Regions from separate parts of the Homo sapiens genome. Here all the other regions are linked to region 2. Evidence: promoter capture Hi-C in 16 types of primary human blood cells and fetal thymus (Javierre and others, 2016). All regions are on one chromosome and are shown on one strand. Each heading gives the region's core, a stretch centred on a gene start or on the middle of the fragment in contact. The rest is flanking DNA. Distances are from core to core; before and after follow the strand shown. Region 1 holds the start of CBL (Cbl proto-oncogene). Region 2 holds the start of HYOU1 (hypoxia up-regulated 1). Region 3 overlaps CBL (Cbl proto-oncogene). Region 4 overlaps CBL (Cbl proto-oncogene). Region 5 holds the start of NHERF4 (NHERF family PDZ scaffold protein 4).

Evidence for each region. Contacts are between HindIII fragments. The CHiCAGO score rates a contact against its expected background, and 5 or more counts as called.
Region 1: the fragment with the promoter of CBL here is called in contact with the fragment with the promoter of HYOU1 in region 2 in 2 of 17 cell types (neutrophils and total CD4 T cells); the score reaches 7.1 in neutrophils.
Region 3: a fragment that was not itself captured here is called in contact with the fragment with the promoter of HYOU1 in region 2 in 2 of 17 cell types (non-activated CD4 T cells and total CD4 T cells); the score reaches 5.3 in non-activated CD4 T cells.
Region 4: a contact is called between a fragment that was not itself captured here and the fragment with the promoter of HYOU1 in region 2, in 2 of 17 cell types (total CD4 T cells and fetal thymus). The highest score is 6.0, in total CD4 T cells.
Region 5: the fragment with the promoter of NHERF4 here is called in contact with the fragment with the promoter of HYOU1 in region 2 in 4 of 17 cell types (total CD4 T cells, neutrophils, naive CD8 T cells and 1 more); the score reaches 7.3 in total CD4 T cells.

Annotation. Positions count from the first base shown.
Region 1 is chr11:119,202,533-119,208,761 of GRCh38, forward strand. CBL (Cbl proto-oncogene) reads left to right here and starts at 3,807. Exons shown (of 16, transcript NM_005188.4): 1 at 3,807-4,080. The coding sequence starts at 3,886. RefSeq lists silencers at 3,315-3,384, 3,425-3,814, 3,885-4,074, 4,265-4,324. The HindIII fragment of the contact is 20,442 bases long and covers 1-6,229 here.
Region 2 is chr11:119,055,863-119,061,423 of GRCh38, forward strand. HYOU1 (hypoxia up-regulated 1) reads right to left here and starts at 1,343. Exons shown (of 26, transcript NM_006389.5): 1 at 1,158-1,343; 2 at 208-305. The coding sequence starts at 298. RefSeq lists enhancers at 441-941, 942-1,441, 1,801-1,850 and silencers at 921-1,200, 1,291-1,570. The HindIII fragment of the contact is 24,437 bases long and covers 1-5,561 here.
Region 3 is chr11:119,280,424-119,286,474 of GRCh38, forward strand. CBL (Cbl proto-oncogene) reads left to right here. Exons shown (of 16, transcript NM_005188.4): 10 at 4,546-4,677; 11 at 4,766-5,143. Among named protein-coding and RNA genes, the nearest start is that of MIR6756, 30 kb to the right of the region's middle. The HindIII fragment of the contact is 1,516 bases long and covers 3,068-4,583 here.
Region 4 is chr11:119,303,790-119,309,347 of GRCh38, forward strand. It overlaps CBL (Cbl proto-oncogene), which reads left to right. Exons shown (of 16, transcript NM_005188.4): 16 at 1-4,360. It overlaps MCAM (melanoma cell adhesion molecule), which reads right to left. Exons shown (of 16, transcript NM_006500.3): 16 at 4,740-5,558. Among named protein-coding and RNA genes, the nearest start is that of MIR6756, 6.4 kb to the right of the region's middle. RefSeq lists an enhancer at 2,699-3,444. The HindIII fragment of the contact is 1,328 bases long and covers 3,427-4,754 here.
Region 5 is chr11:119,182,332-119,187,796 of GRCh38, forward strand. NHERF4 (NHERF family PDZ scaffold protein 4) reads left to right here and starts at 3,144. Exons shown (of 11, transcript NM_001168468.2): 1 at 3,144-3,179; 2 at 3,594-3,621; 3 at 3,761-3,834; 4 at 4,148-4,359; 5 at 4,939-5,128; 6 at 5,233-5,369. The coding sequence starts at 3,164. It overlaps NLRX1 (NLR family member X1), which reads left to right. Exons shown (of 10, transcript NM_001282144.2): 9 at 1-14; 10 at 787-1,685. The coding sequence ends at 1,108. The HindIII fragment of the contact is 1,731 bases long and covers 1,516-3,246 here.

The DNA of each region.
Region 1 (6,229 bases), core at 2,557-5,056, 150 kb after region 2:
ATCAGCATGGGCAACTTGCGACTACCACCACCCCACCGAAAATAAATAAATAAATAAATAAATAGAAGAGGCAGTTCCTAAACTGTTTGCCAATCACTTACATTAACACAGCGTAAGGTATTTGATTGGCTGTACGTTGTTCTTTGTGTCACAGATTCCACGAACATGAAGATAATGGGTGAGGCAGCTAGTCAGGGACCAAATGCCTTTAAACCATTGCCCCCAGGCATGGGTCGGGGATTTGTGACTGAAGTCCCATACTCATGTCTCGCTGGGCCTGATAATTTTGCATACCTCACATAGTTCAGACTGCTTTAAGCTATTTTTCTTTTCTCATCCTGATGCATAGAATGATATTAGAATAGAGATTGCAGAATACAAGCAACTATACCTCAGAAGAGAATATAGTTTCCAAATACGTTCAGTCAATGGACTTTCCTTTTTTTGTTTTGAGATGGAGTCTCGCTCTGTGCCCAGGCTGAAGTGGAGTGGTGCGATCTCGGATCACTGCAACCTCTGCCTCCCAGGTTCAAGGCATTCTCCTGTCTCAGCTTCCAGAGTAGCTGGGATTACAGGTGCCCACCACCACGCCTGGTTAATTTTTGTATTTTAGTAGAGACGGGGTTTCGCCACGTTGGTCAGGTTGGTCTCAAACCCCTGACCTCAGTTGATCCGCCCGCCTCGGCCTCCCAAAGTGTTGGGATTACAGGCGTGAGCCACTGTGCCCGGCCCAGTCAATGGACTTTCAGGTGCAGAATGAGGATGTGGTTTGGGGTGAAGGTGAAGTGGGATAAGAAAAAGGCTACATGTTACACGATGTGATGCAGGATGAACCAACTCTAGCATAATCCAGAATGGGAATGACATTGTGATCAACAGTCCAACCCCCTCTCTTGTACATTTTCTAAAGCAAGCGAAATAAAAATTGTGGCAGGGCACGGTGGCTCACGCCTATAGTCCTAGCACTTTGGGAGGCCGAGGTGGGTGGATTGCCTGAGCTCAGGAGTTTGAGATCAGCCTGAGCAACACGGTGAAACCCTGTCTCTATTAAAATACAAAAAATTAGCTGGGCATGGTCTCAGCTACTCGGGAGGCTGAGGCAGGAGAATGGCTTGAACCCGAAGTGGAGGTTGCAGTGAGCCAAGATTGCACCACTGTACTCCAGCCTGGGTGACAGAGCGAGACTCTGTTTCAAAGAAAAAAAAAAGGTAAAAAAAAGGGTAATCTTCCTTTTCTTATTAACTTTATTTATTTATTTGTTTATTTATGTTTTTGAGACAGAGTCTCACTCTTGTCGCTCAGCCTAGAGTGCAGTGGCACAATCTGGGCTCACTGCAACTTCTGGCTCCTGGGTTCAAGCGATTCTCCTGCCTCAGCCTCCTGAGTAGCTGGGATTACAGGCGTGCGCCACCACACCCAGCTATTTTTTTTGTATTTTTAGTAGAGATGGGGTCTCACCATGTTGGCCAAGGATGGTCTCGATCTCCTGACCTCGTGTCCCACCTGCCTCGGCCTCCCAAAGTGCTGGGATTACAGGCGTGAGCCACCACGCCCGGCCTCATTTTTTTATTTTTAGTAAAGACAAGATTTCACCATGTTGGCCAAGCTGGTCTCCAACTCCTGACCTGAGGTGATCCGCCTCCCTCGGCCTCACAAAGTGCTGGGATTACAGGTGTGAGCCACTGTGCTGGGCCGAATGGATTGGATTTTAAAGCATACTTCAGGCAGATGGAATAAGGGAATAGTCTGAGTAACGGTGATGAGAAAAGAAAGAATTGGCCAGGTGCGGTGGCTCACACCCATGATCTCAGCACTTTGGGAGGCTGAGGAGGGCAGATCCCCTCAGGTCAGGAGTTGAAGACCAGCTTGGCCAACATGGTGAAATCTCATCTTTACTAAAAATACAAAAATTAGTCAGGTGTGGTGGCGGGCACTTGTAATCCCAGCTACTCGGGGGGCAGAAGTTGCAGTGAGCCAAGATTGTGCCACTGCACTCCAGCCTGGGTGACAGACTCTGTCTCAAAATAAAATAAAATAAATAAATAAATAAAAAAGAAATAATTGTATTTGATGACTTGGTGAGTCAGCTAGCATAAGACATGTGTACCAGGGAGTAGTATAAAACTACAAGGTTGTTTAGCTTGGAGTTAGAGCAACTTGTCAATTTTATTCCCGAGGCAATGGGAGGTGTTTAAAGTTTTTTTGCGATGCTGTCTGAACTATACTTTAGGAAGCCTATGGTGGCAGGATGAATTGAAGGCACAGGAAAAGGTTTCAATATTCAATAGTCCAGGGAAAAGAAACGGAGGACCTGCAACTAGGTGTTGGCACTAAGGGATGGAGCTTTGCCTAGATTTTCCCTTTGTAGATTCTTCTCTTCCTGGATGGAAAATGATAAAAGGAAATTCTTCTGATAGTAAATTATAATGTTGACTCCAAAATCAATTCTAGATAAAGGCGATTAAATTGCAAACCCAGGATGCCTGTCTGAATGGTCCCTGCATTCAAAGATATTTTCCCCTTTACAGGAGCACCGGATAAATTTAACTCCCTAATCTGTCAAGGGCTTTGTGGAAGAGCCTGGAGGGGGATCGAAGGCGGAACTGATACTGACACACCTGGGTCTGCAAACTCCCAAAACTGAGGCTCAGAATTAGTAAATTAGGGCAGGGCACTTCCCTCTTTGGAAGGGAAGTTCCTATTTTCAAAGTTCTTCCAACGGAACTTTTACATTAGAGAAGTGTAATTGACTGAGAAGTGGAAGTGACCAGGAACAGCATTTCTGTTCCCTGGGCGGGAGAGAGAACCCCCTCGGGCGGAGCCAGCAGCAGGTCAGCTTCTGAGGGGGCCCTCATGCTGGCGGCGCCGACCTGTGGTGCAATGCTCTGAGTAGGAGAATCTTAAATACATGTTTGAGATTCAATTCCCAGAAACGTAACTAGTCTTCACAAGCCAAAAAAATAAAAATAAAAAATAAAAAAAGGAAGTGATTTCTTTTCAAGAGGTCAAAGGGCCTGGAAGAAGAGGTCCTGGCTTGAGTGTCTCAAGGCTTTCTGGGGCCTAATCCGGCTGGAATGGGCCGCAGCATTCATATTCCTGTCCTTGGTCGTGTCTTAATGAAGAATTGAAAATAATAAGGGGTGGAGAAATAACTTTCCTTTTTCTCCCACCATCCTCCCACAGTGTAAATAAACAAATAACTCTAAGCTCGATTTCCTCATTTGTCAGGGGTGGGGAAAGACTTGACATCAGGACTCTTCCATTCCATCGCCACCTGTCTTAATTTAAACATTCCCATGACCCACCCCAGAAGCGCCAACCTCCCGCCCACAAGGAGCATGGAAGTCTTGGTTTCTGGCTACTGCGCAGACTCCACCTTGGACCTACTCCCCAACCCCCCGCCGCTCCTTTCCCCGTTTCTCCAGCAGAGGGCGCAGGCCCAAAGGTTCCGCCGACCCCGCCCCAGCCTGGCCCCGCCCCGCCCCGGCGTAGGGGCGGGGAAGACGGGCACAGAAACCTGGCCGCGGCTTTCCGGGAGCTGTGGGCACGCGAGCTGCTCGAAGCCGGTGGCCCGGGGATCGTCGCTGCCCAGTCCGGCCGCGGCCGGCCGCTTCCCCGAGCTTACCAGTAAGCCGGTCCGCCTCCGGGACGCGCCCCGCCCGCCCCGGGCTCGCGCGCTCTGAAGGGGCGCGTCCCGCGCACTCCCGGCGCCGCCCACTCCCCTCCCCACGGCCGCTCCTCCCTCCGCCCGGATAGCCGGCGGCGGCGGCGGCGGCGGCGGCGGCGGCGGCCGGGAGAGGCCCCTCCTTCACGCCCTGCTTCTCTCCCTCGCTCGCAGTCGAGCCGAGCCGGCGGACCCGCCTGGGCTCCGACCCTGCCCAGGCCATGGCCGGCAACGTGAAGAAGAGCTCTGGGGCCGGGGGCGGCAGCGGCTCCGGGGGCTCGGGTTCGGGTGGCCTGATTGGGCTCATGAAGGACGCCTTCCAGCCGCACCACCACCACCACCACCACCTCAGCCCCCACCCGCCGGGGACGGTGGACAAGAAGATGGTGGAGAAGTGCTGGAAGCTCATGGACAAGGTGAAAGGCCGGCTGAGCGCCCGCTGTTGCAGGGTGGGCGTGGGCGGAGGGCCGCGGGGAGGGGAACGAGCGGACGGAGGAAGCGGGGGAGGGGACGGGTCTGGTGAAGCCGGGGAGGCGCGGAGCCGGGGTGACCGGCCGGGGGCGTGGGGGCAGGGACGAGGCCGGGAGGGTGGGGGGCGGCGTGGGGGAGGGGCTGCCGTTGGGAGTCGGGGAACGCTGGGGTGCCGCGTTTGGGGTAGCCAGACAAAGATGGAGTGGGGGCTGGGGCGAAGGTTAACTGGGAAGTCAGTGGGGCGGAAGTACAATGAGGGGTGCGGAGTTTGGGGCTCTGTGCAGGGTGTAGGGATGTAGGTCACGGAATTGGCCTGGGAGGTTAGCAGGGAGGGGGTGAGGAAGAGTGATGTACCGGCTGGGGCTCTTGGCTGGGTGAGATCTGACTAGGGAATTAGGTTCATGGGCTCTGACTGAGGAACCTGGCTGGGGTCAGGACAGCTCTCAGGGAAGCTGTGCTCTGGGTGAGAGTATAGTCCTTTCTCATTAAGATGTAACACGAAGATAAAAGACATATTGATGTTTAAGTGAGGCAAGGAAAGAACTTTCCTCCCCATCTAGCGCCGGCTCAAGTTTTTTGTTACCCTCAGAAACACTGGATGTGATCCATTGCTGGTGCTGAGATATGCACTGATTAAACCACAAGTTCTGGTTAGAACTATTATCTTCTGAAAGATGGACTGGCTGAGCCTGTTAAGCAGCAGCAGATTCTGACTTCTTAATAACTTCCTCCCTACTACATCGCTTGAGCTGGGTTCTTTTTTTCTGGTAACGGTTCTGACTCCTTATTACAGGTCCTGACTTTAAACTTGTTCGTTGAGCTTCTTTGATTACGCTTTTTTGTTTGTTTGCTTTTTGCAAGTGCGAACAAAAATAACTCCTTTATATTTAGCCACTAAGTTTGTCATTTGGGAGAATTTTACTTCCTTATAGTTGTGTCTATATGATGAAATGTAGTCAGTCTCAAGTATTTAACTGTTTAAGCAGTCGGACGCTTTGTCAGAATTCAATACGTTTTCTTGGTATTTTTCATATTCTTTAATTAATTACTTTGACAAAATTCATATTGCGTATGAAAAGTGATTAGAAGTATCTGGCACGTTTTAAGAGAATGGTGTTATTTCCTCCAGGGTAAAATTTGGTTTTCTTTGGTTCCTCCCTGGGCCTCGGTTCCTCTTCTGTAAAGTTCTTCATGGGTTGCTTTGGACTAGAAACCGCTAATAAAATGATTATGAAGCACTTAGCCAATGTAATGTGCAATTTAAATGCTTAATAAGTCCTGTGTGTGAATTAACACTCCAGTAGTGCATGCCAGTGGTTTCATAGCCACCTTTTTAGGGCTGGCTTTTCTCATGTTAAATAATTGGTATTGTAATTAATGACACAAGTATTCGTGTGTTGATTATATTGGTGGTGTAGTACTAATTTTATTGTTAGAAATTATAATAAAATCCTTACAGAAAGTTTAGGTGTGTAAAGGAAACTTTAAATGTGTCGACTCCTTTAAAAAAAACACATCGAAGATATTCAAATGCTAAAGTTTGTTAGTTTGCTTTTTAGGGATTTATCGTTAAGGACTACAAATTTTACTCTGGCATAGAAAAAATACTTTTCTAATGAGTGTCTCGTATCAGACATGTGGGTGCAGTACAATCAAAATTGTGTTGATTAGTGGCCTCTGCTTAAGAATAATCTGTTTACTAAAGAGTTTCTGTATTCTGTATTCTTTTTTTTTTTTTGAGACGGAGTTTTTCGCTCTTGTTACCCAGGCTGGAGTGCATGGTGCGATCTCGACTCACTGCAACCTCCGCCTCCTGGGTTCAAGACATTCTCGTGCCTCAGCCTCCCGAGTAGCTGGGATTACAGGTGCGCGCCACCACGCCCAGCTAATTTTTTGTATTTTTAGTAGAGACGGGGTTTCATCATGTTGACCAGGCTCGTCTCGAACTCCTGACCTCAGGTGATCCATGCGCCACGGCCTCCCAAAGTGCTGGGATTACAGGTGTGAGCCACTGGGCCTGGCCCTGTATTCTTAAAGAATAAGAGTATTCTGTATTCTTATTAAAGTGTTTCTATAAATACAGAGTAAGTTGTA
Region 2 (5,561 bases), core at 93-2,592:
GTCAGTTAGCTCTCCCTTCGCCCACCTTCCTGGGACTCCCTCTAATCAAAGCATACCACTTTCCATGGGTAAACGAAGATGGCAAAAGACAAAAAGGCCTGGACCTAACAACTCAAGAGACTTCTGGCCAACAGCCCCAAGCTCAATTCCCATCATGCATCCTTCAGTCATCATTTATCCATTTGCTCCCTCTACTGGGGTACATACCACTCAGTGCCAACAGGTCTGCCAAGAGCACAGCCACCAAGGCCCAACAGACTCGCCTCCTCGGCCTCTGCCTCCTAACTTTGTCTGCCATAGTGCCCCTGGGGGAGGCGAAGAAAGAAAACACTTAAAACTGGATACCCGGAGTGAAGGAGACAGAATCACATCCCAGAACGGAGAGGCTGTAAGATTCATATCTACTTCATTCTTACCCAGGGCAGATCAGCCTACTTCTCCCCTTCTCCCTCCTGATGGGTACAAACCATTCTCTAATCATCCCAGCAGCGCCCACACAAAGGCCCAAGTGAAAGAGCATGGGTCCTCGGCTTTGCCACATCCCTAAACAGAGAAGCTAACAGGACAAGAGAAAGGAGACCCGAGCCTTTTGTCCACCACACAGGCAGTGAGTGGCGCACCGCAGCACTGTGCCTGTTGTCAGACACCTGGGGTGCGGCCAGGGATCCCCGCCCAGGGCTCAACCACCTCCCCACACCTGGAGCTCCCCCGCTGACGGGGAAAGCCAGCTGGGCCTGGACGGGAAGAGAAAGGTAATGACGTTGGGGGTAGCTAGGATGAAGGAAAGGCCTATCTCCTCCTCGGCATCCCTGCGGGTTGTCCCGCCCCCTCCCCTTTCCCAGCTCACTCCCCGGCCCCGCTGTGCCCACAGACGCAGTGCCAGGGGCGGTAAGGTTCCCCGCCCGGCGGGTAGCCGTTACCCGGTGTTCACCTAAACCCCACCTGACGAAGGCGGCGGCTCCCACTCCCGGAAACGGATCCCGGCCCGCCCCAGCAAGTGGGGACAGACCGGGGGCCGAGCTGCGTGCCCCCCGGTGCGAGGCCGAGCGCCCGGCGTCCGCGCGGCCCTCCCTTGCGCTCCCGACCCGCCCCCGGAGCTCGCACGCTGTCTCCCCTAGGAGGGGTGGCCGGCCCGCACCTCCATCCACCCCCGCTACCTCTTGCCTCCGCTCCTGCGGCCCCAGCTCTGGGACAGACGCGGCACGAACGTACCCACGAGGCCGGCAGCGCCCCCCACCCGCGCCCTTCACAACTCCTCTCGGTTTGCAAACTGTTACATTAGCCACCAACCTCTCGGCGGCGTCTCGCGCACCAGCCGGCCCCGGACGCGGCGCGCGCTCATTGGAGCCTCGGCCGCCCGGCCCTGCGCTGCGCGCCCGGCCCCGCCCCCGCCGCCCCGGCGCGCGTACTCATTGGACCACGTCCCAGGCCCCGCCCCCTCCCTTTGCCAGCCTTGTAATGGGGCGGCGGAGGGGACCAGCCACCGGTTGGGCAGAAGCAGCCGGCGTCGGCCTGGGATTGGACCACGTCACGGGGCCAGCGCGCTCCACTCCTTCCTCCCCAGCGCCGGCCCCGGGGCGACCGCGGGACCTTTTCCGGCGCTGGATGCTTTGCTGCCGGGGTTCGGGAGTGACCTGCGCCTAGAGCAGGTCGGGCGCACTGCAGTCCCGCACTCGGGGCTCTTCTTCCGGTCACCTGTAGAGCCCGGCCGAGGAATGGAATAACAGGCGTCCTGTCCGCAGCCCCGCGGAGGGGGCGCTGGCCTGCCGGTTAGTATTGAGGTGCCCTAGGCTTTGGATAGACGTTGGAGAATGGCTGTCCCTCGGACTGAGTCCGTCGCAACCCCCTCTGTTTTACTGAGGAAACTGAAGCCACAGAAAAAGATGTTTGCTGATGGGTCAGAGATAACCGATGCATTCGTCGCAGAATCTGGCCAGGATTTCTTAGGTTAAGCCCCACTCATTTGTATAAGAAAGAATATTCCAAACTTAAGTACTACACACAAAAGACACTTTTATTTGTGAGGCTATAGTTGGTTGAGCTTGTGTGCACCTTCTCCTATTTCTGTTCTATTAAATCTTGTGAACATTTCTCTACTCTTTAGCTGTTTCTGTCATAGAATGACAGAAGCACCTCACTGCCTTCTCTTTTAACTTACAGCTCCATAGAAATGTGCGCAGTCGCCCGGGCGCGGTGGCTCACGCCTGTAATCCCAGCATTTTGGGAGGCCAAGGCGGGCGAATCACTGGAGGTCAGGAGTTCGAGACCAGCCTGGCCAACATGGTGAAACCCCGTCTCTACCAAAACTACAAAAATTAGCCAGGCGTGGTGGCGGGTGCCTGTAATCCCAGCTACTCACGAGGCTGAGGCAGGAGAATTGCTTGAATCCGGGAGGCAGAGGTTGCTGTGAGCCCAGACTGCGCCACTGCACTCCAGCCTGGGCGACAACAGCGAGACTCCTTCTCGAAAAAGAAATGTACGCAGTCCTTGGAGACTGCATTTTCCTTAAGTGTGGATGGAAATAAGTCATCTGTTTTCTCTCCTACTAAGTTGATGCCTGGCCACCCTTCACAGAAAGGCCCGCTTGAAGACCCTGGCTGTCAGGGCCAGGGTTGTGTCAAGCCTGAACTTGTTTAAGGAGCTCTTAGCTCTTCCTTTCTCTACATTTTTCGTGATGCTTAGGTGGAGAGTGGTCCGGTGTCTATGCTTAGAAGGAAAAATTATTGGCAGTCCCAGAGAGAGTCTATTCTTCCTTTTTTTTTTTTTTTTTTTTTTATTGATCATTCTTGGGTGTTTCTGGCAGAGGGGGATTTGGCAGGGTCATAGGACAATAGTGGAGGGAAGGTCAGCAGATAAACAAGTGAACAAAGGTCTCTGGCTTTCCTAGGCAGAGGACCCTGCGGCCTTCCGCAGTGTTTGTGTCCCTGGGTACTTGAGATTAGGGAGTGGTGATGACTCCTAACGAGCATGCTGCCTTCAAGCATCTGTTTAACAAAGCACATCTTGCACCGCCCTTAATCCATTTAACCCTGAGTGGACACAGCACATGTTTCAGAGAGCACAGGGTTGGGGGTAAGGTCATAGATCAACAGCATCCCAAGGCAGAAGAATTTTTCTTAGTACAGAACAAAATGAAGTCTCCCATGTCTACTTCTTTCCACACAGACACAGCAACAATCCGATCTCTATCTTTTCCCCACCTTTCCCCCTTTTCTATTCCACAAAACCACCATTGTCATCATGGCCCGTTCTCAATGAGCTGTTGGGTACACCTCCTAGACGGGGTGGTGGCCGGGCAGAGGGGCTCCTCACCTCCCAGAAGGGGCGGCCGGGCAGAGGCGCCCCCCACCTCCCGGACGGGGCGGCGGCCGGGCGGAGGCGCCCCCCCACCTCCCTCCCGGACGGGGCGGCTGGCCGTGCGGGGGCTGGCCCCCCACCTCCCTCCCGGACGGGGCGGCTGGCGGGGTGGCTACGGCGGGGCAGAGGCGCTCCCCACATCTCAGATGATGGGCGGCCGGGCAGAGACGCTCCTCACTTCTTAGACGGGATGGCGGCCGGGAAGAGGCGCTCCTCACTTCCCAGACTGGGCAGCCGGGCAGAGGGGCTCCTCACATCCCAGACGATGGGCAGCCAGGCAGAGACGCTCCTCACTTCCCAGACGGGGTGGCGGCCGGGCAGAGGCTGCAATCTCGGCACTTTGGGAGGCCAAGGCAGGCGGCTGGGAGGTGGAGGTTGTAGCTAGCCGAGATCACGCCACTGCACTCCAGCCTGGGCAACATTGAGCACTGAGTGAACGAGACTCCGTCTGCAATCCCGGCACCTCGGGAGGCCGAGGCTGGCGGATCACTCGCGGTTAGGAGCTGGAGACCAGCCCGGCCAACACAGCGAAACCCCGTCTCCACCAAAAAAACACAGGCGTGGCGGCGCGCGCCCGCAATCGCAGGCACTCGGCAGGCTGAGGCAGGAGAATCAGGCAGGGAGGTTGCAGTGAGCCGAGATGGCAGCAGTACAGTCTAGCTTCGGCTGGGCATCAGAGGGAGACCGTGGAAAGAGAGGGAGAGGGAGACCCTGGGGAAAGGGGGAGGGGGAGGGAGAGCTATTCTTCCTTTTAAGAGTAGTTATGTATTCAGGCAGTAGACAAATTGGTAGAAATAGAAATTCAGTTAAAATTTTAACAGAATTTAATTACACAAATAATACACAAATGTAATCTTTAAAAAATTCATTCTACACAAAGGCAAATTTCCTTGATGCCAACCCAAACCCCCACTCTCTCTTGTGGAGGCACCTGCTATTGTCAGTGTGGTGTATAAGTTTCCAGGTCTTTCCCTCTTTTACACATATAGATATCCTAGAAACATGTAGCTTTTATCTTTTCATAATATACATTTTTTATTTTTTGCAACCAACACCTTGTTTGCCTTTTATCTTTTTTAAAACCATAAAATGTTACACAATTACATTGTTTGCAATTTTTTTAAACTAATAATAAAGTGTGGAGCATTTTCCATGTAACTGTGGTTCATTTCCTCGTTTACTGCTGTAGAACATTCCATAGCATGGGGTTCGTTCTGCCATAATGATAGACATATACGCTGTCAGTTCAATTCCACAGGGAAAGATTTTGTTTCTCAGTAATAGACTCCACTTTTGGCCAACTATCCAGTAGAGTCTTTCCATCCATTTTTTATTTTTTTTTGCGACAGAGTCTGTGTCATCCAGGCTGGAGTGCAGTGGTGCAGTCTTGGCTCACTGCAACCTCCACCTCCCGGGCTCAAGCGATTCTCCTGGCTCAGCCTCCCAAGTAGCTGGGACTACAGGCACACACCACCATGCCTGGCTAATTTTTGTATTTTTAGTAGAGTCAGGGTTTCACCATGTTGGCCAGGCTGGTCTCGAACTCCTGACCTCAGGTGATCCGCCTGCCTCGGCCTCTCAAAGTGCTGGGATTACAGCGTGAGCCACCACGCCCAGCCTTTCCATCCATTTCAAACAGAGAGTATGCGTTTTAACATTTATTGGGCCACTCTGATATGCAAGCACTGGGCTAGGTGCTGCTAATCCAGAGATGGGCATGAGCTTGTCCTTACCCTCAAAGAAGTCATAATGTGTTGGGAAACTGGGAAACAAATATGTTCATCGTTTCATGCGCTTATTAAAAATCTATTTGGGGGGCCGGGCACAGTGGCTCACGCTTGTAATCCTAGCACTTTGGGAGGCCGAGGCAGGCAGATTGTCTGAGCTTAGGAGTTCAAGACCAGCCTGGGCAACATGGTGAAACCCCGTCTCTACTAAAATACAAAAAAATTAGCCCAATGTGGTGGTGCATGCCTGTAATCCCAGCTACTCAGGAGGCTGAGGCAGGAGAATTGCTTGAACCCAGGAGGCAGAGGCTGCAGTGAGCCGAGATTGTACCACTGTACTCCAGGCTGGGCGACAGAGTGAGACCCTGTCTCAAAAAAAAAAAAAAAAAGAAGAAGAAGAAGAAAGCTCTCGAAGCTCCTAAGAGAGCTCCAACCATGAATACCCCTGGTGGGAGCATGGTTCTGCCACAGCTACAG
Region 3 (6,051 bases), core at 2,576-5,075, 230 kb after region 2:
TTTTGGTTAGTTATTAAAGTTTATCCCCCTTTTTTGGTCTTGAAATCACTCTTGAAGGTATGGAAAAGAATGAGAATGCCTGTTTCTTCACATCCTGGTAGATGTTGTTTGTTGTTTTATTTTGATTTTTTTTAATATACTGAATCTACTTATAGTTGGTGAATGCACATGGATTTTTTTTAAGGTTTAAAAGAATTGCTAAAAAAAACTTACAAAAACATTGGTTCCCTGCCTCTGCCCCCTCCAGCACCTCTCTGTCCCCTCGTTCAGAGTTTTAATTCTTGAAACTGTTTACTACCTCTGTGTTTCTTAACCATGTGCTTATACTGCTTTTTCTGGATTCTTGATCTCTTCACCTCAGATGTTGTGGGAGAGGGTTTAGGTCTCTTATATCTCCCTCCTCCCTACTCCATATCCTCCCACTACAGTTATTTGAATTTGGCTTAGTACTAGTGTTTACATGATTTCACTCCTTACTGTGCCAAGTAACATACTATACAATAATTACTTTTGCTTTCTTATACAACTTTCTGCTTTTCCTGGTATAATTATTTTTATTTTCTTAGTTTTCAGTTTGTACCTGTCACTACCAAATCATATCATACTCTCAAACATCCTCTCAATATAGTTTCTATGAAATAAAATCTGTTAGTATAGTAGTATGTGATACCGTGTACTGCTTTGTAGGAAATAGGAGTCATCTGTGTTCCGCTCCAGTCTGCTCCAGTTACTCCTGTGCCACACTACTTGTCACCCTGAGGTGTCCCCTCGCCATCCTCATGGGACTTCATTGCCTCTCCTCTGTTGGAGTACCTTGGTTCCCATGTTTTCCTCTTTTTTGCTTCTTTGTTTATGTCCTTAAAGTAGCTTTCTGTGAAAGGGTGAGAGATAAACTTCTTGAGATCTTTGGTATCTTAAAATGCCTTTATTCAACCCTCAAACGTGAATTGACTAGTTACAGAATTCTAGATTAATAAATATTCTGCTCTAAATTGTTAAGGCTTCACTGACTTCTAGCTTCTAATGTATTTTTGCTTTTCAGCGCTTCCTTTCCCTCTGTCACCAAAAGCCTTTTTTTTTTTTTTTTTTGAGACAGAATCTTGCTCTGTCACCCAGGCTGGAGTGCAGTGGTGCAATCTCGGCTCACTGCAACCTCTGCCTCCCGGGTTCACACCATTCTCCTGCCTCAGCCTCCTGAGTAGCTGGGACTACAGGCGCCTGCCACCACGCCTGGCTAATTTTTTTTTGTATTTTTAGTAGAAACAGGGTTTCACCATGTTAGCCAGGATGGTCTTGATCTCCTGACCTTGTGATCCGCCTGCCTCGGCCTCCCACAGTGCTGGGATTACAGGTGTGAGCCACTGCACCTGGCCCACCAGAAGCTTTTAAGATATTTTCCTCATCCTTGATTTGATGAAAATTGTAAGGGTATTTTTGGTTTGTTTGTTGTGGGTTTCCTTTCTTTCATTGAGCTAGGTATGTAATAAACCCTTTCTATTTGGATATTTATGTCCTTTAAGTCTTGAAGTCTTGGAAATGTTTGTATTTCTCTGATCACTTATTTTCCATTTATAAATTTATAAAGGTTCCACCTTTTCTGGAGCCTTATATGCTATGATAAAAGAATATTGCGGCCGGGTGCGGTGGCTCATGCGTGTAATCCCAGCACTTTGGGAGGCCGAAGCGGGCAGATCACCTGAGATCAGAAGTTCCATACCAGCCTGGCCAGTGTGGTGAAACCCTGTCTCTACTAAAAATACGAAAATTAGCCAGGCATGGTGGCGCATGCCTATAATCCCAGTTACTTGGGAGGCTGAGGCCAGAGAATGGCTTGAACCTGGGAGGCAGAGGTTGCAGCGAGCTGAGATCGCACTATTTCACTCCAGCCTGGGCAACAAGAGTGAGACTCCATCTCAAAAAAAAAAAAAAAGACTATTGCAAGGATCCATTATGATGTTGAGACATGAATGTAAAAATATGATTAGTTCAACCCTCTGTGCCTAAGGAATGAGAGAAAGATTGATGATCGGCAGAGAGGGCCTTCCAGAATGGGGAAAGGATTTAAAGAATGATACGGAAGTCGAAATAATCATTAGAATGTGCAGGAAACACTGAGGAGATGAGCCTGAATAGAGCAGCGTTGATGCTTGTTAGGGAGTTGTGGGAAATACCTTTCTTTGGTTGCAGAGACCAGATTAGAAAGACTTGTGAAAGCTGGGCAGGAGGGTGAGATTTTGTAACAGGGCAAATTGGGAGTTACTGGTGGTTTTTGAGTTGGTGAGTGTTTAAGAATGGCTAAGCTGATAGTGGTAAGCAGAAGGATGTGGTGAGATAAACTACAAGTTGGGAAGTTCACTAGGTTGTTTTAATAAATCACGGCCACCCGCGGTGGCTCACGCCTGTAATGCCAGCCCTTTGGGAGGCCAAGGCAAGGAGGATCACTTTAGCCCAGAGGTTTGAGTCCACCCTGGGCAACATGACAAGACCCCGTCTACCCGTGCCTTCCCCGCGCCCCAAAAAAAAAAAAGCCACATGTGGTGGCGCACAGCTTGTCCCAGCTACTTGAGAGGCTGAGGCAGGAGGATGGCTTGAGCCCAGGAGGTCAAGGCTGCAGTGCACCATGTTTGTGCCACTGCAGTCCAGCCTGGGCTACAGAGCAAGACCCTGTCTCCCATAAATAAGTAAGGTCTGGGGTTGGTAAGTAGAATGAAATGAAATATACAGGTATGAGAATCTTTTAGGGAAAAATCAGCAGGATATAGCTACTGACAAAATAATTATGATGAAGTGAGAGGAGGCTTGACTAGTAACTTTGACTTTTGTCATTGAGCTGTTTAGCTGCTCATGCTGCATTGTCAGCTAATTGGGAACCCGTTATCTTAAGCATGTGGATAAAGCAAAGAGTTAAAGATGAGAGCTTTTCTGTCATCCACCACCCAGCACTAATAACATGACTAAATATGGCTGTTTTTCTGTCAGTGTTGCTTTGCTGTTGGGGAATTTAAATGCAGAGTAGCATTTTTTTTTTAATGAATTACTGTGTATCTCTTGACAGCTTACTTTGACAAGCTTATCAGCTATTCCTAAGCCTGCTATAGGCAGGGAAATGGAAAAGGTTATATATGTGTTCTTTCTTCTAATTTGGTACCTCATTTTTTAGAGCTCAAATTGACAGAAAATATTAATCCTTTTTAATTCTTTCTTTTTTTTTTTTTTTTTTTTTTTTTTTTTTGAGATGGAGTCTTGCTCTTTTGCCCAGGCTGGAGTGCAGTGGCGCTATCTCGGCTCACTGCAAGCTCCGCCTCCCGGGTTCATGCCATTCTCCTGCCTCAGCCTCCTGAATAGCTGGGACTACAGGCGCCCGCCACCACACCTGGCTAATTTTTTGTATTTTTAGTAGAGACGGGGTTTCACCGTGTTAGCCAAGATGGTCTCGATCTCCTGACCTCGTGATCCACCCGCCTCAGCCTCCCAAAGTGCTGCGATTACAGGCGTGAGCCACCACGCCTGGCCTTAATTATTGAATTGAAATAATTTATTTCTTTGGAAGGACTCAAGATGCTTTTTAGTGATATTCTTGATCATTTTTCTTTACAAATTCACCTTAAAAAAATTTTTAGTTAAAATTTTTTAGAGGGATCTCACTATGTTGACAAGGCTGGTCTTGAACTCCTGGCCTCAAGCAATCCTCCTGCCTCCCCAAATGCAGGATTACAGGTGTGAGCCACTGTACCGACTCTCATCTTCTTTCTTACCTTAATAACCCATAGAGAATTCACCGTCATCGATCTCTTTCTTTATTATGTCCCTTAAACATTGTTTTCCCAGGTACTTTGTTAAGAGGTTAATATCTGCACCCCCCGCCCCACTGCCATCCTTTTTTTTTATTTTATTTTTGTCGAGACAGGCTCTTGCTCTGTTGCCCAGGCTGGAGTACAGTGGCTAGATTATGGTTCACTGCAGTCTCAAACTCCTAGGCTCAAGCAGTCTTCCTGTTTTAGCCTCCCAAATAGCTGTGTGCCACCATGGCCCAGCTAATTTTTTATTTTATTTTTTGTAGAGATGGGGTCTCATTATGTTGCCCATACTGGTCTCGAACTCCTGCCTCCCAAAATGTTAGTATTACAGGTGTGGGCCACTGTGCATGGCCTGCCCCTTACTTTTTATATGGATTCCTATTTTTAATCTTGAAAAGATTTTTTTCTTTCTCCAAAGATGAGGGGGTAGAAAACTGTTGTAATTTTTAAAGTTGTAAACTAGGAAACTTTTTGTAGCCCTGTCCTTTCTAGATAGATTACCTGTAGCTTGCCATGGGTATGGTGTTTCTGTGATTGAGAGTGCCCTCTTATGGTGACACAAAAATTATTCAGGAAGTGCTAGAGTCTCTGGAAGTTTTTTAAGAGGGTGTGTGCGACCTCAAACCTAGGTCTGGCCCATTTGTAGTTTAAGTGTTCCCATGGTATTTGCCATCCACAGCTTTAGGAGAGTTGAAAGATGCCATTTCCCCAAACGAAAGTAATCTGTTAAATTTTTTATGTACCCTAGGTGGAACGGCCGCCTTCTCCATTCTCCATGGCCCCACAAGCTTCCCTTCCCCCGGTGCCACCACGACTTGACCTTCTGCCGCAGCGAGTATGTGTTCCCTCAAGTGCTTCTGCTCTTGGAACTGCTTCTAAGGTAAAGCATTTTCCATTACTGCAGTTTTTGGATTCTTTGCTGTGTACTAGTGGGTTTTTACTGATTTGCTTTCACCCTGCTTCCACAGGCTGCTTCTGGCTCCCTTCATAAAGACAAACCATTGCCAGTACCTCCCACACTTCGAGATCTTCCACCACCACCGCCTCCAGACCGGCCATATTCTGTTGGAGCAGAATCCCGACCTCAAAGACGCCCCTTGCCTTGTACACCAGGCGACTGTCCCTCCAGAGACAAACTGCCCCCTGTCCCCTCTAGCCGCCTTGGAGACTCATGGCTGCCCCGGCCAATCCCCAAAGTACCAGTATCTGCCCCAAGTTCCAGTGATCCCTGGACAGGAAGAGAATTAACCAACCGGCACTCACTTCCATTTTCATTGCCCTCACAAATGGAGCCCAGACCAGATGTGCCTAGGCTCGGAAGCACGTTCAGTCTGGATACCTCCATGGTGAGTCTTAATTTTGAAACTATCTAACCTGTTAAGAAATATGTGTGGGCCAGGCACAGTGGCTCATGTCTGTAATCCCAGCAATTTGGGAGGCCAAGGTGGGTGGATCGCTTGAGCCGAGGATTTCGAGACCAGCCTGGGGGACGTAGTGAAACCCTGTCTCTACAAAAATTACAAAAATTAGCTGGGCGTGGTGGCACTTGCCTGTAATTCCAGCTACTCGGGAGGCTGAGGTGGGAATATTGCTTGGGCCCAGGAGGCCAAGCTTTCAGTGAGCCATGATGGCGCCACTGCACTCCAGCCTAGGCAATAGAGTAAGACCCTGTCTTGAAAAAAAAGAAGAAAGAAAAAGAAATATGTGTGGATAGAAGTTTATGGGTTGAAATTTTGTGATAAGTTTTATATGGAATTCAGAGATGCTATAACATAATTCCTACCCTCAAGAAATATGGCTGGGCGTGGTGGCTCACACCTGCAATCACAGCACTTTAGGAGGCCGAGGCGGGTGGATCACCTGAGGTCAGGAGTTTGAGACCACCCTGGCTAACATGATGAAACCCCGTCTCTACTAAAAATACAAAAAATTAACTGGGCCTGGTGGTGGGTGTCTGTAATTCCAGCTACTCAGGAGGCTGAGGCAGGAGATTCATTTGAACCTGGAGGCAGAGGTTGCAGTGAGCTGAGATCAGGTGATTGCACTCCAGCCTGGGCAACAAGAGTGAAACTTTGTCTCAAAAAAAAAATGTGTATATTCACAGACCAGATGAGGCAGTTTGTAAATATTGCAGTAAATGTCCTTTCATAAATGCCATTTGTAATCTAACTAGAAAACACTTAAGTTTTAGAGAAATAAGAGGTTATTCCCAGATAGGGCAATCATGAGAACTTTATAGAAGGAGTGGCATCTG
Region 4 (5,558 bases), core at 2,841-5,340, 250 kb after region 2:
CAAAGCATCTGCCCACACTCCCCTTTCCAATCTAGTGCCTTCCTTGAACTTTTTCCTGAGCTGCTACGTCCCTAATCCCCCTTGTTGGGAGGATTTTCGTATCACCCTTATGGGACCTGTCACCATGTCCTGTACTATTTGGAATTGGTTTTCCAGTCTTTCAACAACCGTTGTGGCTAACTATGTTTTAGAAGGGCTGGAGGTGTGGGCCCTGTCTTCGGGTCTCAGGACCCAAAGATCCTTTAGTCAGTTGTTGGGTCTTCCAAGAGCCAGACATTAATACAGATTGAACTCCATCAGTCCCCTAATTGTCAGCCTTTACCTCCCTCCCAGAGCAAGGAGTTTAGGGATTCTAAAGCTTAGTGTCCACACATCATTCTACCAGACCTTAGAGCTTTAGAAGCTCAATCTAAAATACTGTAACTCAGCATAAACTATTACTATCACTCCTTTGAACTCAGTCTCCATGAGCAGTGTTTTGTTGGAAATACATAGAACGGCTTAATGCCTAGAGGGTGGTGGATAGTGAAGGACGGTCAAGGTTATATTTTTGACTGCTTAGGGATTCTTTGGATCCAAGAAACAGAAATGTTCAAGCGGAATAAAGGAGGGAGTGGAGTTGTGGTAAGGATGCAGGGTATTTCGCAGAACCCAGGACGGGAAGTGCCTTTGGTTCTTGGGTGGAGCTGGAACTGCAGAGCTTTGCACCTAGTCCTTTCTCCCGCTTCACAGTCTGCTTATGGTATATGTGGCCCCCAAATAGGCACTCTAGTCCTCAAGTCTACACCACCTTCCAACTCTGGGGATCACCATGAACAAATTCTCAATTTCCCATACTTAATTTTTTTTTTTTTTGAGATGGAGTCTCGCTGTGTCGCCCAGGCTGGAGTGCAGTGGTGCAGTCTCAACTCACCACAACCTCTGCCTCCCAGGTTCAAGCAGTTCTCTGCCTCAACCTCCCGAGTAGCTGGGATTACAGGCGCCTGCCACCATGCCCAGCTAATGTTCATATTTTTAGTAGAGACAGGGTTTCACCGTCTTGGCTAGGCTGGTCTTGAACTCCTGACCCTCATGATCCACCCACCTCGGCCTCCCAAAGTGCTAAGATTACAGGCGTGAGCCACCGCGCCCGGCCCATACTTCGTATTCTTAAAAAAAACTACACTCAGCCCAGCACATTGATCAAGTATCTATCTCTGAGCAGTTGGCCTTGCCAGGGAGAGCAGAGATGTGGCAGGCTCCTTCAGCTGGAGACAGGGAGCTTCTCAGAGAAGTGAGCAGAGACTCCACAGACACCCTAAAAAGGCTTCTACTCAAGAAGTAAAGCCACTACTCCTGCCTTTTTGCTTAGTGGACAGGAAGGCACAGGAGTTTGTCTGGGACATCATAGAAATTCTTAGGTTTAACTTAATTCTGGTCATTGTCTTCTTTATTTCCTGTTTTTCTTCCCTTTGTCAGTCTTCGCATCCAAGATTTCTTCCCTCCCTCTTGTGGGCCAGCCTGTCCTGTTCCAGAGCTAGCCTGTTCCTGGGTAGCCTTCCTTAGCCTCCATTCAGCCTCAGGTCTTTTGCCTTCTTCCGTGTTTATTTAGAGAGCAGAATCTAATAACGGGTTCCACTGTAGCCACTATCCATGGACTTCTGGGTCCTCTTCAGGTTTGAGTGCTTGAAAATGTTCATTCTCTGGGCTTGTGGCCTGTCTCCTCCACTCTCCTCCTCACCCTCTCGCTCCTTCCTGTGTGAGGGCCGCTCTGCAGTAATGTTCTCAGGCAAGCCTTCCTAGGCACCTCAGAAACTACTTTGCCAGAGCCAGTAAGAATATATAATATTGGAGCAGTTGCCAGGATAGAAATTAAATATAGATTCCAGTTTAGGATAGAGTTTTTACCGAGAGCTCTTTAGACAGTATACCTGTGTCTTCTCTGGCAATTGCTTTCATTTTAGTCCTATATAAAAGCTTTCCTTTTCTGTTTTTTTTTAAAACTATGCTTTTGCTTGCCTAAATCTTTTGATCTTATATTTCTCTCATCTCAGAGCCTGTCCTGAGTTGTAAGGTATTTCATACTGCCTTACTTAAAAGTTTTTTAAACTACTAGAGTCATTTGATACACACAGAAGTTACCTAATAATCCAAAGATGTCCATCAAGGGAGGAAGGGTGGGTCATCAGACTTTGCCTTTGATGTTGTAGACTAGGCTCCTGAGTTAAGCAGCAGAGGGACAGCAGTGCCATGTGCCTTCACTGTGTCCCAGGAAATCTGGGTTGGTTCCAGTGGGAAATACCAGTATTTCTTGGTTCTGGAAAGTAGCAAAAGAGTAGGAGATGGGGAAATAGGGATGGGGAGAGCAAGCCCCGCATGTCCATGGCGAGTCAGGTGGGGAGCACGGGTGGAAGGGCCGGCTGTTGACAGACAGACTAAGCTGTGTGGTGCTCTTGCCGCCCCTTCCTGGGTACAGAGCTTGAGAAAAATGCAGCCGACCACTCCCTGTGTTTGTACAGAGCAAAGCCCAAAAGCCAACCTCAGATCTCCTGATTTGGCAGCTGAAGAAATCAGCAGAGTCCTGATTGCCTGATTCAGTCCCAAAAATGAATGTCAGGCCCCGCCCCCTCCCCACCAACATTGCCTCTCCTACATTCTCCTTCTGCCCCTAAATCAGACAGGAGGCCAGAGAGGAGTATTGCTCAATGCGTGCTATGTGCAACTCCTCAGGCCTTGTGCCACCTCCATGCTGAGCCCTGAAGCAGGGTGTCCTGGGTGCCTGTGTGTCAGCTCCCTCCTCTCTACCTACCTCTGACCTTCTTGTGGGTGAGGGTGGCCATGCTTATGGCCATCTTAAAACTGGAGAGGCAGAGAACTACTTATGAGTCTGTAGACCACGTGTTGTCTTCCATGGCCTGTTTCTCCTGCTGTCTGGGTGAGTGAGCCTGCAACGCAATGCCCATGAGAGTAAATGCCTCCTGACCTACCCTGCTCAGCACTGTTCTAGTGTCTTGGCCTTGAAAGAAAAGCCTGACTTCCTGCTGACACATGTGGTAGGGGCATGGCAGCTATGAGGCACCTCCTACGTCTGTTTTCTGGCTGTGGTGACTTGGGATTTTTAACCTTATATATCTTTTTCCTTTACTCAAAACAAAACAATTTTTAGCACACTGAAAAAAAAAAAAAGCCAAATGTTTTGTGCCTTTCTAAGGCAGCACTGTATCCCAGGCTGCATTTTAGGACTTAATATGGAAATACCAGAGTCTGAGCTCCTCTACCTTGAGTTTCATTAGTCCTTAGTGTCTAGGAGACAGGAAAGAATGCTCTCTGTGACTGGAGAGGTGACATGCAGGTGCAGTGTGTCTGGAGTCCCTTTCCCCTGCTGTGAGACTTCAGTGGAGGAGAGAAGCATTGTACCCTGGGATCATTTGGTTGGTTCCAATCACAAGCTTAGTTATCAGGTTGCATGCCTTGTCTCCTGCAAAAGACAGAATGTTTCACAATTCCCAGGTAAACTCTGGACCATTCCAAGTGTCCTAGCCTTCTGATGACATTAATTACCTAGTTGTGTCGAGGAGTATAGGATGGACTCTCCTGAGAAGGGGAGGTTGGTGGCTTTGTCTTTTCTTTTTGCTGGATCCTGAACTGGTCTAGACCTCCTGCCCCCACCCCCCAGCCCCCATCAGATGTGGCTGGCCTTTCATTTGAAGGCTTCAGACTTAAAGCATTAAGCAGCTAGTGCCCTCTGCAGGGCCTGGTTTCCCCAGGGAAGGGCAGCAAGGAACATGGGACCAGAAGCCTGTCCTCAGTAATGTGACTATAGTGAGCTTTAGCAAAAGTTTTTCTATATAATGACATCTTACTTATCTTTTACCCTTTCCTCAGTTTTCCCCTGCCTTTAACTAATAAAGAATTGGGAGACAGAAATTTTAAAGTCCTCCTTATTCAAGATTTTGAAATTCTTAGCCTGGGAGTGCTGGAGAGAACCTGATGCTTTCTCCAGAATGAAGAGTCCCAATTTGTATATCAGTGTTAAGAAGAAAACAAAACAAACACATAGGTGAGATTTTCGTGGACTATTTTAAAAATGTGTCATTAATATAAAAAATTTATATTAGCAGTATTTAATCATTCTCACCTGTAAAGAATAAGAAAAACAGAAGGTAAATATTCTTACAGAGAATAGCAGAGCTTTAAGATTCATTTTCATTTTAAGTCCATTTTATTTTGCCAGTGTATTAATGTTTAGAAGTCTGTTTTACTAATGTTATTTATTAATTTTTTTTCATTTCCATACACAGTTAGTTAACTAAAGAGCTTTTTCAAGCACCCATGTCTGTAAAAAAATATTTTTAAATAAAGTTTCTTTTGTTGTAGCAGACTTGAGTTCTTGCTCATTCAGGGGGTTGGGAGGCAATACTCGAGTTGCCGTAGGACCAAATGCCAAGGCCCCCTTCCTCATGGCGGTGAGCCTGAGCTGCTGTCTGGAGGGCAGTTCCAAGTGGCAGGAAAGCATAGGAAGGGGACATAGCTCCTGCTAACAGCCTGCCAGGCCCTTCGTGCTGCGTCATCAGGGCAGTTTTGCTGCTGAAAAGTAGGGTGACTGTCTGCTCTGGTAGAACTTGAGCCATTTGCTCAGAAGCAGAGGTAACCCCTGATCTCTGCTGCCAACTGGAAACGGTTTTGTGTGCCTTTTGGTTGTAGTTTCACAGGCCCCCAGGTTCCTGTGGTACCCATGATGAATAAAAAGCAATGTATGATTTCTGGGACAATTAAGCTTTATTTTTCATATATATATATATTTTCATATATATATATACATACATATATAAAGGAAACAATTTGCAAATTTACACACCTGACAAAACCATATATACACACATATGTATGCATACACACAGACAGACACACACACCCGAAGCTCTAGCCAGGCCCGTTTTCCATCCCTAAGTACCATTCTCTCATTTGGGCCCTTCTAGGGTTGGGGCCCTGAGCTTGGTTTGTAGAAGTTTGGTGCTAATATAACCATAGCTTTAATCCCCATGAAGGACAGTGTAGACCTCATCTTTGTCTGCTCCCCGCTGCCTTTCAGTTTTACGTGATCCATCAAGAGGGCTATGGGAGCCAAGTGAACACGGGGGATTGAGGCTAATTCACCTGAACTCGAAAACAGCGCCCAGCTTCCTCACCGCAGGCACGTATCTTTTCTTTTTTTTTCCTCGAGACGGAGTCTCGCTGTGTTGCCCAGGCTGGAGTGCAGTGGCACGGTCTCGGCTCACTGCAAGCTCCACCTCCTGGATTCATACCATTCTCCTGCTTCAGCCTTCCGAGTAGCTGGGACTATAGGTGCCAACCACTACGCCTAGCTAATTTTTTTTTGTATTTTTAGTAGAGACAGGGTTTCACCGTGTTAGCCAGGATGGTCTCGTCCTGACTTTGTGATCCGCCCGCCTCGGCCTCCCAAAGTGCTGGGATTACAGGCGTGAGCCACCACACCTGGCCCCGGCACGTATCTTTTAAGGAATGACACCAGTTCCTGGCTTCTGACCAAAGAAAAAATGTCACAGGAGACTTTGAAG
Region 5 (5,465 bases), core at 1,894-4,393, 130 kb after region 2:
CTGGAACTGCTACAGTGAGTCCTGTCCCTGGTCCCATTGCCCCCAGCCCTTCAGACTACTTCCCTCTCTCAACTGTGCTCCTCCAATCCTAGGGAGTGCTTCTGGGCCTGGGCCTGGTGCCTGTCCTTTATTCCTGGTTTCTGACTGATCCTTGTCAACCTAGCTCTGAGCCAACCCACCCCCTCTGTGACTGGCGCTTAAACTGCACCAATTCCCTACCACCATTTCTCCTAAAGCCCTACTGTCTCTGGTCCCACTGAATTCTAGTATCAGGGTCGGCTGTGGTGGCTCACGTCTGTAATCCCAGCACTTCGGGGGGCCAAGGCGGGCACATCACCTGAGGTCAGGAGTTCAAGACCAGTCTGGCCAACATGGTGAAACCCCGTTTCTACTAAAAATACAAAAATTATCTGGGTGTGGTGGTGCGCACCTGTAATCCCAGCTACTTGGGAGGCTGAGGCAGGAGAATCACCTGAACCCGGCAGGTGGAGGTTGCAGTAAGCCGAGATCATGCCACTGCACTCCAGCCTGGGTGACAGAGCAAGACTCCATCTCAAAAAAAACAAAAACAAAAACAAAAACAAAAACAAAAAAAAAAAAGAATTTTAGTATTAGTCCCTGCCTCCCACTGGCCAGCAGCCTCCACCTCTGGCTCATTGCAGTTACCTGATCGCACTCTGCAGCCAGGAGATGAGTTGTGAGGCCCCCTGACTTTCCATCCATCTACCCTCGGGCCCTCCTTCTCAGAGCTCTACTGAATGGCATCGACTTTCTCTCTCCTGCCAGCCTCTACTTCAATGAGCTGAGCTCAGAGGGCCGCCAGGTCTTGCGAGACTTGGGGGGTGCTGCTGAAGGTGGTGCCCGGGTGGTGGTGTCACTGACAGAGGGGACGGCGGTGTCAGAATACTGGTCAGTGATCCTCAGTGAAGTCCAGCGGAACCTCAATAGCTGGGATCGGGCCCGGGTTCAGCGACACCTTGAGCTCCTACTGCGGGATCTGGAAGATAGCCGGGGTGCCACCCTTAATCCTTGGCGCAAGGCCCAGCTGCTGCGAGTGGAGGGCGAGGTCAGGGCCCTCCTGGAGCAGCTGGGAAGCTCTGGAAGCTGAGACACTGGCGGCAGGCACCTAGCTATGTGACCACTGGCCCTAAACCTTTTCCCTCTGTGGCCTCCTGGCTTGCACTGCTCCCTCTAGAAAGATTCCTTCAGGTCTGGAGGCAGAGGAATGGGCATAGCTGAGCCAGTTGCCCTCCTAGGGCATGTTTGACCAGGACTGAGTCTGGAATCTCCAAGTTAAAGATGGTGAATCAATGCTTCGGGCTTGGAGATGGAACATGCCTCCTCTCCATTCAGCTAGAAGGACCAAAGCATGTGGCATTTGGATGGCCAGAGTGCCCTGAAGCACCACTACCAACCTTGCCTCCCCCTCCTCTCAAAGAGCCTCTGACTGTGTCACCAAGGGGCTCACATCTTATGTCTGCCATGCCAGGGGTGTCGCCATCCAGATGTGTTGGAAGCTTCCCCTCCTGCCTTATGCTCACCTGTGGACACCGAGGATGCCCTCACATTGGTGCTTTCTCCTCATCCTCATGCCCCCTTTGCCACAATGGTATGATGGCTTGGTAGCCCCTCGAGGCAGATGCACCTGACTTGCTGCTATTAAAAAGCCGTGTGCCTTCTACCAATTGTGGCCTCTTCTTTACTGCCTGGTGCTTCCAAGAAAGGGCACTGTTCTTGGTCTTTCTGGTTAAACTACCAACCATGATCTATTGCAAGTGGTTCTTGGGCACTAGGTTCAGAGGCAGTGGAGGCTGGAAGGGCCCATGAACAAGATATTGGCATGGGGGTTGGCCATGCTGGGCTGTATTAGTCCAGTCTCACGCTGCTAATAAAGACATACCCAAGACAGGGTAAGTAATTTATAAAGGAGGCTGGGCATGGTGACTCACGCCCGTAATCCCAGCACTTTGGGAGGCCGAGGTGAGCGGATCACCTGAGGTCAGGAGTTTGAGACCAGCCTGACCGACATGGATAGACCTCGTCTCTACTAAAAATACAAAATTAGCTGGGTGTGATGGCACATGCTTGTAATCCCAGCTACTCGAGAGGCTGAAGCAAGAGTATTGCTTGAACCCAGGAGGTGGAGGTTGCCGTGAGCCGAGATAGTGCCACTGCACTCCAGCCTGGAGAACAAGAGTGAAACTCTGTCAAAAAAAAAATTTATAAACGAAAGAGGTTTAATTGACTCACAGTTCCACATAGCTGGGGAGGCCTCACAATCGTGGCAGAAGGCAAATGAGGAGCAAAGTCACATCTTACATAGCAGCAGGCAAGAGAGTGTGTGCCGGGGAACTCCCCTTTATAAAACCATCAAATCTCATGAGACTTATTCACTATCATGAAAACAGCACGGGAAAACCTGCCCCTGTGATTTAATTACCTCCCACCGGGTACCTCCCATGACACGAGGGAGTTATGGGAGCTGCAATTCAAGATGAGATTTGGGTAGGGACACAGCCAAACCATACTATGGGCCATAGAATTATCACCCTTTTCACACTTACCCCCCAGGCTTGGAGTTAGTGACCAGCAATCTGCCTTTCTCTGCACAGAGGGGCAACTGGGTCAGATTCAGGGTCTCCAGAAAAAGTTGGGGCCCAGGGATAGATTCAGGAGGAACCCACACAGTTTTCCAGAGGATAAGACTCTCAGCGGGGCACGGTGGCTGACGCCTGTAATCCCAGCACTTTGGGAGGCCGATGAGGGCAGATCACCTGAGGTGGGGAGTTTGAGACCAGCCTGACTAATATGGAGAAACCCCATCTCTACTAAAAATACAAAATTAGCCAGGTGTGGTGGTGCATGCCTGTAATCCCAGCTACTCGGGAGGCTGAGGCAGGAGAATTGCTTGAACCTGGGAGGCAGAGGTTATGATGAGCCAAGATCATGCCATTGCACTCCAGCCTGGGCAACAAGAGCTAAACTCGGTCTCAAAAAAAAAAAAAAAAAAAAAAAAAAAAAAAGACTCTCACTCCCGTTAACCATTACCCCACTGCTTCCACAGCGTCTTCAAGGAGGCGGGACCTGGGAGGGGATGGGTGGGAGGATCAGTGGCTGTGATGAACCTTGTCCCTACCCCGGGCACTGGGTTGCTGATCCAGCTATGGAGAAAGCCGCAGGTAGGAGGCCAGGAGAAATCCTCTGCAGGGGACTTTGGGACAGGCAGGGGGCCGACTTGGAGGCTGAAGCTTTGGGACCAGGGCACACTTGATTTTGGGGCTTGGAGCCCTGAGGCAGGTAAACAAGTCAGGAGAAAAGTAATGAGTTGATATGTCTGTCTTCCTGGTCCACACCCTGTACTGATATGCTCAGATTTATGTGCCAAGGACTTGGGGGGAGAGAAAGGGAGGGGACCGCACAATAGTCCTGTGTGTATGGCAGTGAGAAGAGAAGACCCCTTTGGAGCAGAAAGGAGGGGGCATGCCCTGAGTTTGGGGGTTTCCCTGAGTCCTTTTAGTTTATGCCAATGGAAGAGGCACATCTGGGGAGAAGAATGTGACTCTCCTCCTCTCACCCACTTCTTTGCCCAGTAGATCTGCAGGACACAGCCTCGTTAACTCTGTAAGTGCCACGAGGGTTGGGGCAAGGGGAGGAAATAATTGGAGGCAGCGAAGCGCTTCACTGCCATTAGCACCTAAAGGAGATCCTGGGACCCAAGTCCAGCTGCCAGCTTGTACCTGCTTCCCCTGCCTCCTTGCAGGAAGTTTAAGTTTAACCCAAAGCTGGGCATTGATAATCCTGTCCTCTCCCTGGCCGAAGACCACGACCCCTATGGTAACTCCCTCACCCCCTGGCAACCATTCCCTATCCCTGGAGGCACCACGGCTCCACACGGCCTCCGATCTCCTTGGTAACCACTCACTCGGTCTCCCTCTGATAACAGCCTTGGTTGGGAGTAGAGATAGGAGGGGCCGGGTGTTTTCTCCTGTCCCAGTCCCTCTGCCCACGAACCCCACCACCCAACACCCAACCAGGCAGAAACTGCCCAGCACCCTATCAGGACACAGGGTCTGCCAGGCACACGGCGAACCTGTACTTGGGCTGTGCCCTCTCCTCCCCCTTTTCTGCTGCCCACCTCACCCTCCAGATCCCTGGAGCCTGGAGCGGCCTCGCTTCTGTTTACTGAGCAAAGAGGAGGGCAAGAGTTTTGGCTTCCACCTGCAGCAGGAGCTGGGCAGGGCTGGGCATGTGGTGTGCAGGGTGGACCCAGGCACCTCTGCCCAGCGCCAGGGTCTTCAGGAAGGAGACAGGATCCTGGCGGTGAACAATGATGTTGTGGAACACGAAGACTATGCGGTGGTAAGGCTGTGGTCCAGGAGAGCATGCTAGCACCTCAGAAAGAGAAGCGGGTTGCTCAGTCCCCTGGGCAGTATGGCAGCAGGGCACAAGCCTCACTCCCCCACACCCCAGGATTTAGAAGTGCCCAAGTCAGAGGGGTAGGGAAAGCATCTAGAAAGCCGATTCCCGCTGGGCGCAGTGGCTCACGCCTGTAATCCCAGCACTTTGGGAGGCCAAGGCAGGTGGATCACCCAAGGTCAGGAGTTCAAGACCAGCCTGGCCAACATGGCAAGACCCTGTCTCTACTAAAAATACAGAAATTAGCTGGGCGTGGTGGCAGGCGCCTGTAATCCCAGCTACTCGGGAGGGCTGAGGCAGGAGAATCACTTGAACATGGGAGGCGGAGGTTGCGGTGAGCTGAGATCGCACCATTGCACTCCAACCTGGGCGACAAGAGCAAAACTCCATCTCAAAAAAAAAAAAAAAAAAGAAAAAGAAAAAAAGCCGATTCCCTTGGCAAAAAAATGTGGATTCCAGGGAGGTCCTGGGGGTTGGCAAGAGGGTCTAGACCAAACCCACGCCCACGTGCCCTCTGTCCAGGTGGTACGCCGCATCCGGGCCAGCAGCCCTCGGGTGTTGCTGACAGTATTGGCACGGCATGCACATGACGTGGCCCGAGCTCAGCTGGGAGAAGATGCCCACCTCTGTCCCACCCTAGGCCCAGGGGTCCGGCCCCGGCTGTGCCACATAGTGAAAGATGAGGGTGGTTTTGGCTTCAGTGTCACCCATGGTGAGCCCAGAGGGTGCGAGGGGGCGGCAAGGATGAGGGATCTCAGCCCCTGTTCAGGGCAGGCAGGAAACAGACTGGACCTTGCTTTTTTTTTTAATTTCTAGGCAATCAGGGTCCTTTCTGGTTGGTGCTAAGTACTGGAGGAGCAGCTGAGCGGGCAGGGGTGCCCCCCGGGGCCCGGCTGCTGGAAGTGAATGGGGTCAGTGTGGAGAAGTTCACTCACAACCAACTCACCAGGAAGGTGTGACTGCCTGTCTCCCACTCTCCTCCCCCAATCCGGGCCTGGGCCCCACCTCGGGAAGACGCCTCCTTCCCCATGCGCCTAACCTCCTTATCT